Linked DNA regions of Homo sapiens: region 1 is linked to region 2. Evidence: promoter capture Hi-C in 16 types of primary human blood cells and fetal thymus (Javierre and others, 2016). All regions are on one chromosome and are shown on one strand. The core of a region is centred on a gene start or on the middle of the fragment in contact, and the rest is flanking DNA. Distances in the headings are between cores, read along the strand shown.

Region 1 (4,990 bases), core at 67-2,566, 180 kb before region 2:
GTCCGTCTTACTGATGGAAGGTCAAGTGAATACTTCAGAAATAAAGGAGAACCTACTTGCTGTTATCTGCAGCATTCAGTACCAAGACTGACACATTCACTAATGAGTAATATCTTGTTACACAGACTTAGAATCACTCCTAGGTCATCCTGTGTTAATTAGGTTCTTCAGAGTTTTTCAACACAGTCTGCAGACATTGTGCTCAAATCTGCAATTGTGCAGCTCATGAGTGAAAGAGAAAAATACACGAGGTAGATTTTGTGGCAACATCCTATGTTCAGCGGATCCTGTGGAGTAACTAAAAAGAAAAAAAGTTCAGTTGTAGTATCTAGGCCAGTACGGTTTTAGAATATAACGTTTAAAATGGCAGCCTTAAATAGAAATCATATTTATTTCAAGTTCAACTTTAGACATTACCATAAAAGTGAAACATGACAAAAATGAAGATTCTTAGTCTACATTTAAAATTAAAAAACAAGAAAATTACCAGTTGTAATTTCAAGTTAACTTTTGCCTTCTATACAAAATATAACTGTCACAGAAAATAACGAACACATGAATAAGTACACATTTTTAAAGCTCTTTCAAAATAGACAACTTAAATTACCAAAGCCAGATCTCTTAGTTATTTGTCTGGTAGCAACAAATGATCATAATATTTAAGAAAAAATATTTTTTTAAAAAAACAAAAAACCTGCTCTCCTACACAGAGATTTCTCGTTCTCCGAATATATTTTAAACACGTTCACAAAGTCTTCATATTTAATTTAAACTATACGGTAAATAGATTCAAACTGTTAATTTTCAAATTTGCCATTCAATTCACTAGGAGAACTATATGTAATTTGTTTCTTTGTGGAGTGGTTCTTTCCTAGGAATCTTTACAAATAAAAGTATATTTTACTTAAAAAAAAAAAACATAAAATGTAATGGGTATATGTTCCTACCCAGAAAACTCCATATTACACAAATATGAATGTTCTCCGAATTAATATGTAACTTTAATACAAATCCAATCTAAATCCTATTTTCAAGGGATTTATCTGGAAGAATGCACAAAGGTTGCTAAGATATTTGAGGGGAAGAAGGGCAAGTTTTTAATGATTTTTATGAAAATATTAAATGTACTATAAAACTGCCATAAAACCAAGTACACATAAGAAACCAGAGATGACTGGCCGGGCACAGTGGCTCATGCCTGTAATCCCAGCACTTTGGTAGGCCGAGGCAGGCGGATCACAACGTCAGGAGTTCGAGACCATCCTGACCAACATGGTGAAATCCTGTCTCTATTAAAAATACAAAAGTTAGCTGGCCGTGGTAGTGTGTGCCTGTAATCCCAGCTACTCAGGAGGCTGAGGCAGGGGAATTGCTTGAACCCGGGAGGTGGAGATTGCAGTGAGCCAAGATCGCACCACTGCACTCCAGCCTGGGTGACAGAGCAAGACACCGTCTCAAAAAAAAAAAAAAAGAAATTAGATATGATAAAGATAAATATGGTATCTCAAGTTAGGAAGAATGGTTTATTTCAACAAATAATGTTGGAAGTGGCTAACTGCTCAAGGGGGCAAAAAAACCTAGGCTTTAGTCATACTGCATACCATTCATCAAAAAAAAAAACCAAAATTCCAGCTGAATAAAAATTTAATTTGGAACTCAGTATTCACAACACATGGCAAAGGAATTACAAATCAGGAAAAGAGGAAAATCCCAAATAGAATGCTACTAATATGTTAACTATAAAAACTGCCACCTCTTTTTTCACCAACTGTTAAGATGACCATTAGTTACCATAATGAGAAATGACTCCATCATTAGAATCACTGTTATTTTTCCTCACAAAATACCATCCATTATGTCAAAGAGAATGACATACACTTCCTGACAAACTATACTATTACAGTAACTGCTAACTTGATATACAGTCAAGTTTCCAGCCAAGTTAACTTTGAAAGTAACTAAAACAGGTGCAAAGGCAGAGTGAGACTCTGGGTCATTTAAGGTAATAACTTTGCTCTTCCAGAACAGCATGTCACACTATAAATCTGAGTTCTACTACTATAATCTCTAAGGCAAATAATACTTAAAATCACTGGCTATTTCCACACATTAATAATGCAGCAAGGCATAGTGTTGTTGAGGGTGTGGAAAAACAAGCATTCTTACACAGAGGAGTAAGTTGATACATACCCACAATCCCTTATTCAAAACTCTTGACACAAGACACGCTCCAGAATTTACACTTTTCCAGATTTTATAGAGGTATTGTGACACATGTACCCTACATTATGAAATCCTCTCAAGAAGTCTCAGGTAGCAATGGATAATCAAACATATTATCTTTGCTGAGGCAACTATGAATGGTGTCAAAAATAAAGACTATATATAGCCTCACGTTACTTCAGGTCAGGTTTTACTAGCAAAGATTTTTTTTTTTTAACAACTTGATTTTTCAGAGCTTTTTGAATTTCAAAATTGCAAGTATTAATAATACTTGGCACTGGAAATGCTTAATACCAATCTACTAATCCTACTTCTAGAAATATATTTTACAGAAATATATGCATTAATAAAGTAGAAGTCCTAATCCCAGTAGCTGGACTCAAAATTGTCCCCATCCATGTTTAAACAAGGTGACAGCAACTGGTGGCCAGGGCCAAGACAGACTTAAATCATGCCGCTAGACCCCAGAATTTCTTGCAGGCTAGCGGTACAGGCTCACTCTGGTCATTTCATTAACCATATAATAATATGATTTTCTGCAATGATTTTGGGGAGGCCTCATTTACGACTGGGTTTTGCCAGATTTGATTTTTTATCGTATCCATGAAACCGTATTAAAACAATTGAAGTCTGCTTCTAAAAAAGTACAAAGTCATACTCATTAACACAGCTTTATTAGATTCCCCTATTTCCCACTCTTCTTTTGTAATCCAGGATACATTTTCTTCCTGGAGAGGCAGCCTACGTAAAAGTTACCTTAAAATAGGCAGAAAAAGTAAGTCATTCAGATATGACACTAAGTAAATAAACAAGTACAATTAAAAATAAAATTAAAGTCAGGAGTGGTGGCTCATGCCTGGAATCCCAGCACTTTGGGAGGCTGAGGTCGGTGGATCACTTGAGGTCAGGAGTTCAAGACCAGCCTGGCCAACATGGCGAAACCCCATCTCTACTAAAAACACAAAAAAATTAGCTGGACATGGTAGCACGTGCTGTAATCCCAGCTACCCAGGAAGCTGAGGCCAGGGAATCACCTGAACCTGGCAGACGGAGGTTGCAGTGAGCCGAGATCGTGCCACTGCACTCCAGCCCAAGTCACAGAGCAAGACTCCGTCTCAAAAACAAAACAAAACAAAAACAAAAAATAATAAATAAAATTAAGTATCTCACCCCTCTGGGAGCATGGACTTCAAAAGGTATTAACTAAAAATGTGAAAGCTTGGCCAGGTGTGGTAACTCACGCCTGTAATCCCAGCACTTTGGGAGGCCTAGGAGGGCAGATCACTTGAGGCCTGAGGCCTGGAGTTCAAGACCAGCCTGACCAACATGGCAAAACCCTGTCTCTACTAAAAATACAAAAATTAGTCGGGTATGGTGGCTCATGCCTGTAATACTAGCTACTCTGGAGGCTGAGGCTGCTTCAAGCTGAAACTCACTTGAACCCAGGAGGAGGAGGTTGCAGTGAACTGAGATCACACCACTGCATTCCAGCCTGGGCAACACAGCAAGACTCTGTCTCACGAAAATAAAAATAAAAATGTGAAAATTTGCAAAGTTTAGGACGATCAACCAACCATCTTCAAATGCCCACAACACAAACATTTTCTGTAAAAGGCTCCTTCCCTCCTAAAACTTGAAACCAGTACTCTAAATCCTCTGAAGCAATTCAGTATGTACTATATTAATTACCAACTGATGTGACGTATTTTACAAATTTTCCCTTTTCAATAATTACATTTTGTATATCATTCTATATCTAAAATCAGCTTCAAAACGTCACAGACCCTGTTATCTGTAGAAGCCAGCTTCCCCAGATTAATTCTCAGGTATCAAGGAAACTGTTGACTTAATTTTCTTTTCTGAATGAATGGCTAAATTCCACAAATGTTTATTGAATACTAAGTGCCAATCATTGCACTTTACATACTCGGATTCAGAGAAGCCAAACACTAAAGCTCCAAAACACCAAGGGCTTTTACTCTTACTACAGATTACAGCCACAGCTACAGCTGTCATTCAAAAACATGGTGTTTTAAAAACCAGCTATTCTAGACAAACTTAAAAGCCAAGAAGCAAGCAAATGAGTGAAGCAAGCTGGGTATATGAAACATTTTTCTTGAAATGTAGCTATCTTAATCTTTTTCTTTCAAACTTTTAATAGAGACATGAGTTCAAGAAATTTTACTCTTTACCGTAAGAAAAATTGTAGTACAGGTAAAATGAGCAAAGGTATCTGGTGCTCAGCCCTACTACTAACAGTGGATCACACAGGAGGAAGGAAAAACTTATTGAAGACCTATTTAAACCTTCTGGATTTTCTTAATATATGCAATGATTACCTGATTTTTACAAAATAAACTTTTGGCCAGCTGTGCTGGCTCATGCCTGTACTCCCAGCACTTTGGGAGGCCAAGGCGAGAGGGTACCTTGAGGCCAAGAGTTCAAGGCTGCAGTGAGCTATGATCATGCCACTGCACTCCAGCCTGGGCAACAGCAAGATTCTGCCTCTAAAATTTTTAATTTAAAAAAAAAAAAAAAAAGGCTGGGCACAGTGGCTCATACCTGTAATCCCAGCACTTTGGGAGGCTGAGGTGGACAGATCACCTGAGTTCAGGAGATTGAGACCATCCTGGCCAACATGGTGAAACCCCGTCTCTACTAAAAATACAAAAATTAGCCTGGTGTGATGGTGCGTGCCTGTAATCCCTGCTACTCGGGAGGCTGAGGCAGGAGAATGGCTTGAACCCAGGAGGAGGAGGTTGCAGTG
Region 2 (4,813 bases), core at 1,089-3,588:
TACAGGTGTGAGCCACCATGCCTAGCCATGACTGGCTTCTTCTGTACATTAATCTTGCTGCCCTATGGGATATTTCAGCTGTAGCATACACAACCCACTAGCAACTTCCTCATGTCTCTCAATTAAAAACTCTTGCAAGACAATGCATCATTTTGACCAAGTCCCAGAAGTTATTGGTTTTCTTAGCCAGTTAGATAGGCCCAACTTGGTTAGGTAGTTAACTCCGTTAGCTGTGACCAATATGAGCTATGTCTGTTGGACATCATGGGTTTGCAGAGATTTTTCTGAGGGAGGAGGGCAGAGGATGGGCAGAGCAGACCTACATTATTACAGAAAGATGGAACTAGGATTCCAACCCAGGTCTTCTGACCCCCAGTCAAATACTTCTTCCACTTGAAGAAGCAACCTATTAAAATTAAAAAAGTTAACATGAAGCTCTTTTCACTTTTTCCATTGAAAAGCTACTAGCAGGCTACACATATATTACAATCTGAATTAATATACTATGCATACATGTAAATATTGACTGATTTCTTTAGTACCAATAAGTTGGTATTCTAGATAGGTCTTCATTATTTGTCACAAAGATAGCAAACTGTTCCTATGATGGTATCATTGAAGGATTTTGTGAACACACTGATTTTTAACCTTACTTGGCTTAGATAAGTGGTATACAGACCAATCCATAGTTTAAGCACAGGCAGGGAGATATGGCAACTCGGTTTTTTCCCCTACATAGGCATTATTAACCTTGGGCAAAAGAAAGCCAAGTTTTCTAAGCAGGAAAGCAACAAAAGCAAAATGAAACTTCTGAGTTAAAACCATTTGCTGCTGTGGGCATACAGATGTGGGACAAATGAATTTTAATAAGCCTTTAGAATTATTAAGACCCTTTAAGAATAAATTAATTCAAAATTAGGGAATATTATTGGAATATGAGACAAGTGGGAATTAACTTTTTTTTTTAAGAGACAGGGTCTCGCTATGTTTCCCAGGCTGGAGTGCAGTAGCTATCCACAGGTGTGATTATAACCTTGAACTCCCAGACTCCAGTGATCTTCCTCTCAGCCTCCCAAATAGCTGGGACACTGGCTAATTTTAATTATGCAAATACATCTGTATTCAACCTGGGGTCAGTACAACCAATAGGACAAATCGTGTCTTTCGTCAGTTGGAACATATTGCAGGTGCTCAGAAATTCCAAGTATTACACCCTAAAATGATATTATTTAGTGTAGATTTTAAATTTTTTTCTATCATAAATCATCTGACCCTAGATGTTCACATGTATAGCACACGGTCAGGCGTATACCCAGGATTATGCATTTCAGGAAATACATAAGCGTGCAAGTTTGTGCAAGAATTGTCTTCCTGAGTGGGTTCTAATTAAAATACAAAACGAAACTAAATATCCTCATTTTTGAAACAATTACTTATAATGTATCTCAAAGGGAATTCTTGAGACACCCTCTTCAATAAAAAATTAAATTCGAAAATGTATACAAGAGCTTTGGGAGTTAAGATGAAAACAAAGATATTTCGTGGGAGTTTTGAGACAAGAAGGAATACATTCAAATACAAAATAAACTATCCTGAATTTCTCCTGGATTGCCATTCTTGTAAAATTTTAGATATTGCACATTTTCATAATCTAACTCACGGCAGCCCCAACATAAAACTAGTCCTCTGCGGGAATTGCAACTAGATTAGCGGCAACGGTTTGACGCGGATCCGGGGGGAGGGCGGGAGCAAGGCAGGGAGAGAAGGAGCCACCTGCCCAGGACATGCAGCTTATCTCTAGAGAAACGGGTTTTGCAGCACAAAGTAGCCTGTGTCCGATTCATCTATTTTCTGCCTTGTTCCTTCAAACGGAAACCTAACAAAGACCACGGGCAGCCAAGGGCCGCAGCCGGGGACCCAACCCTGGTCACCAAGCCCGCGGAGTGGCCGCACGCGGGGCGGCCGGGTCCCCCAAGCTGCGCGTCCCGAGCTAGCGAGATCCCAGCCTGACAGGCGACGCCGGCAGCTCCCCGTCGCGACCGAACAGCGGCCCAGCACAGGCTGCCGAGGCCAGCGGACGGCCCAGCCGGCCCCTCGCGTGCTCTGGGCGCGCCGAGCCTCCACACTCACCATCTCGATGATCTTGGTCTTCCGCCCCGTCTTCCTCTTCAAGGTGAATATGTACTGAGCCAGCACCACCCCCGCCACCAGGGCGCACACGCTGGCGCTCGCTACCGCGCCCACCCTCGCCACGGCCGCGCGGTCCATGGACGGGGCCCTCATGCGCGTCCAAGCAGGAAAAAAACAGGCAGCTCGCGTAGACTGCGAGTCTCGGAAGCGCGGGATCCCAGAGCATCACGGACGAGCCCGCGACGCCCCGCCCCGCGCAGCGACGCCCCGCCCCGCGCAGCTCCGCCCCCACGAAGCCCCACCCACACGCCATCGATGGGAGAGGCCAGGACGCGGCGGGAGGGGTGTGGCCTGTGCCCGGAGCCCAGGCTGGAGGCGGCCTTCAGCAGACTCAGGGTCTCACGAGCTGCTGTCAGGGCAGGGCAGAGTATTGCGGTAATTATCCTTCTCTGCTAATGAGGATTAGGCCGTGGTTCGCTCGAGCCCCGCCCCAGTAGAAATCTAATTCCAACTGCGGCCCGCTAAGAAGTCGGTCTCCGCCTTCGCGCCTCAGCCCCTCTGGACTCCGACCCCCAGAAGGCTGCGCGGCACGGTGTGACCTGCGCAGTGGCGTCCGTTCTAAGTGCTATAACAACAGGGGGAAGATGGCTCAGAGTTAGGCTGGAGAGGGGCGGTGTCCCTTCCGCCGCAGCCGCGGGGTTTCTGCTACATCCCATTCGCCACCTCCGCCATCCTTTTTTCTGTGTGAGCAGAAGGGCTTGCAGTTGTTCTCTCCTGCCTAGTGTCTTCCAAGGGATAGATGCCATTTCTTCTGCTGGTCTCTGGGGGTGAGGAGGGGCGCAGGGGAGCTTCTTGGGGGAATCGCTCCAACTCTGTGGAGCTGGTGGTGCTGCCTGGTGGGGCTCTCTCTGCCCAGGACGTGGAACAACTTTCAGCCGGAGGACTAGAGGAAATAGTTGTAGGGGAGGAAAAATTGTTTCCTTCTAGCCTTTTAGGTCATTTGGCTGGTCTACAAATTAAATTGATGTAAGACAGAGGAACATGAGAAAAACGATTTGTCGACCGAAAGGTGAAATAACAGGTACTAAAACTTAAAGAAATCATGGTTAGTTTTATTACTCGGCCAAGTTTGAGGACTTAAGCCTGGGAACACAGACTCAGTATAGACCGAGAACGTGTCCCAAAGTAAGTTAGCTGGGAGTATAACCTGAAGAAGACTGAGTTTTAATACCCAGAATATTTGAGTATCAATATCTAGACTACTGTGTCATTTTGTCGCCAAAGTAATTTTTTATGAATCCAGTTTTGCACCAAATACCAATATGACTTAAATGTTGTCTGATTGTGAGGCCTAAGATGGTCACAGTCTCATTTATCTTTCTTCCTCAACAAAAACATTTTCCATATATTACATATTATTTTGAATGGGTAGAGACTAAAGCCACGTTTCTATAATTTCAGGATTTTAAACATTTTGTAGACGATAACATTCGTCTTGAAGCTGTGGACAATCTAAAACAGAAATGGAGTTCCAAATTTTGTTTTTGTAATATGGCCCGTCAACTGCACATGGGAAGAATGTGGGTACTCTGAAATATGATTTCTATTTTAACTAGTTATACTATATCATAGGTCTGATTATCATCTATATGAGATGTTAAAGCTGTAGGAGTATAGTCAATTAGACTACAAACCCTGGTAGTAAATTTCCAGGAGGAAAGGGGTCCATATGTTTTTTATAAGTGTAAACCTTGTGTTTCTGAATCTAAGAGGGTTGGCCATGTTTGGAGACTATTTCAGCTTCTATGTGAATTAACATATTAATTATTCTTGTTGAAAGACATGGAAGATCTTGATATGGTTTGACCCTGTATCCTCACCCACATCTTATTTTGAATTATACTCCCATAATTCCCATGTGTTGTGGGAGGGACCTGGTGGGAGATAATTGAATCATTGGGGTGTTTTCTTCCATACTGTTTTCGTGGTAGTGACTTAAGTATCAGGAGATCTGATGGTTTTATCAGGGTTTTCGCTTTTGCGTCTTCCTCATTCTCTCTTTGTCTGCTCCCATCCATGTAAGATGGGACTTGCTCCCTGCCTTCCACTATGATTGTGAGGCTTCCCCAGCCACGTGGAACTGGAAGTCCAATTAAACCTCTTTCTTTTGTAAATTGCGCAGTCTGGGGTATGTCTTTATCAGCAGCCTGAAAACAGACTAGTACAGATCTCTACACGGAGAACTACAAAATACTGATGAAAGAAATCAGGCCAGGTGAGGTGGCTGGTGCCTGTAATCTCAGCACTTTGGAAGCCCAAGGTTGGGGGATTGCTTGAGGCCACAAGTTTGAGACCAGTCTCGGCAACATAGCGAGACCCTGTCTCTACAATCCCTGAAAAACCAAAGAAATTAGCTGGGCATGGTGCTGCGTTTCACTCTCGTCCGTGTGAAGAGACCACCAAACAGGCTTTGTGTGAGCAACAAGGCTGTTTATTTCACCTGGGTGCAGGCGGGATGAGTCCAAAAGAGAGTCAGTGAAGGGAGATAGGGGTGGGGCCGTTTTGTAATATTTGGGTAGGTAAAGGAAAATGTGTTAACAGTCAAAGGGGGGTTGTTCTCTGGCAGGCAGGGGTGGGGGTCGCAAGGTGCTCACTGGGGGAGCTTTTGAGCCAGGATGAGCCA

The links. Contacts are between HindIII fragments. The CHiCAGO score rates a contact against its expected background, and 5 or more counts as called.
Region 1: a fragment that was not itself captured here is called in contact with the fragment with the promoter of NT5C3A in region 2 in 1 of 17 cell types (neutrophils); the score reaches 8.7 in neutrophils.

Annotation. Positions count from the first base shown.
Region 1 is chr7:32,879,645-32,884,634 of GRCh38, forward strand. KBTBD2 (kelch repeat and BTB domain containing 2) reads right to left here. Exons shown (of 4, transcript NM_015483.3): 2 at 1-298. Among named protein-coding and RNA genes, the nearest start is that of KBTBD2, 9.6 kb to the right of the region's middle. The HindIII fragment of the contact is 4,245 bases long and covers 1-3,439 here.
Region 2 is chr7:33,060,438-33,065,250 of GRCh38, forward strand. It overlaps NT5C3A (5'-nucleotidase, cytosolic IIIA), which reads right to left and starts at 2,339. Exons shown (of 9, transcript NM_001002010.5): 1 at 2,131-2,339. The coding sequence starts at 2,268. LOC124901610 (a long non-coding RNA gene) reads left to right here and starts at 2,748. Exons shown (of 4, transcript XR_007060279.1): 1 at 2,748-3,211; 2 at 3,592-3,710. RefSeq lists silencers at 1,974-2,033, 2,334-2,453 and an enhancer at 2,694-2,853. The HindIII fragment of the contact is 6,622 bases long and covers 1-4,813 here.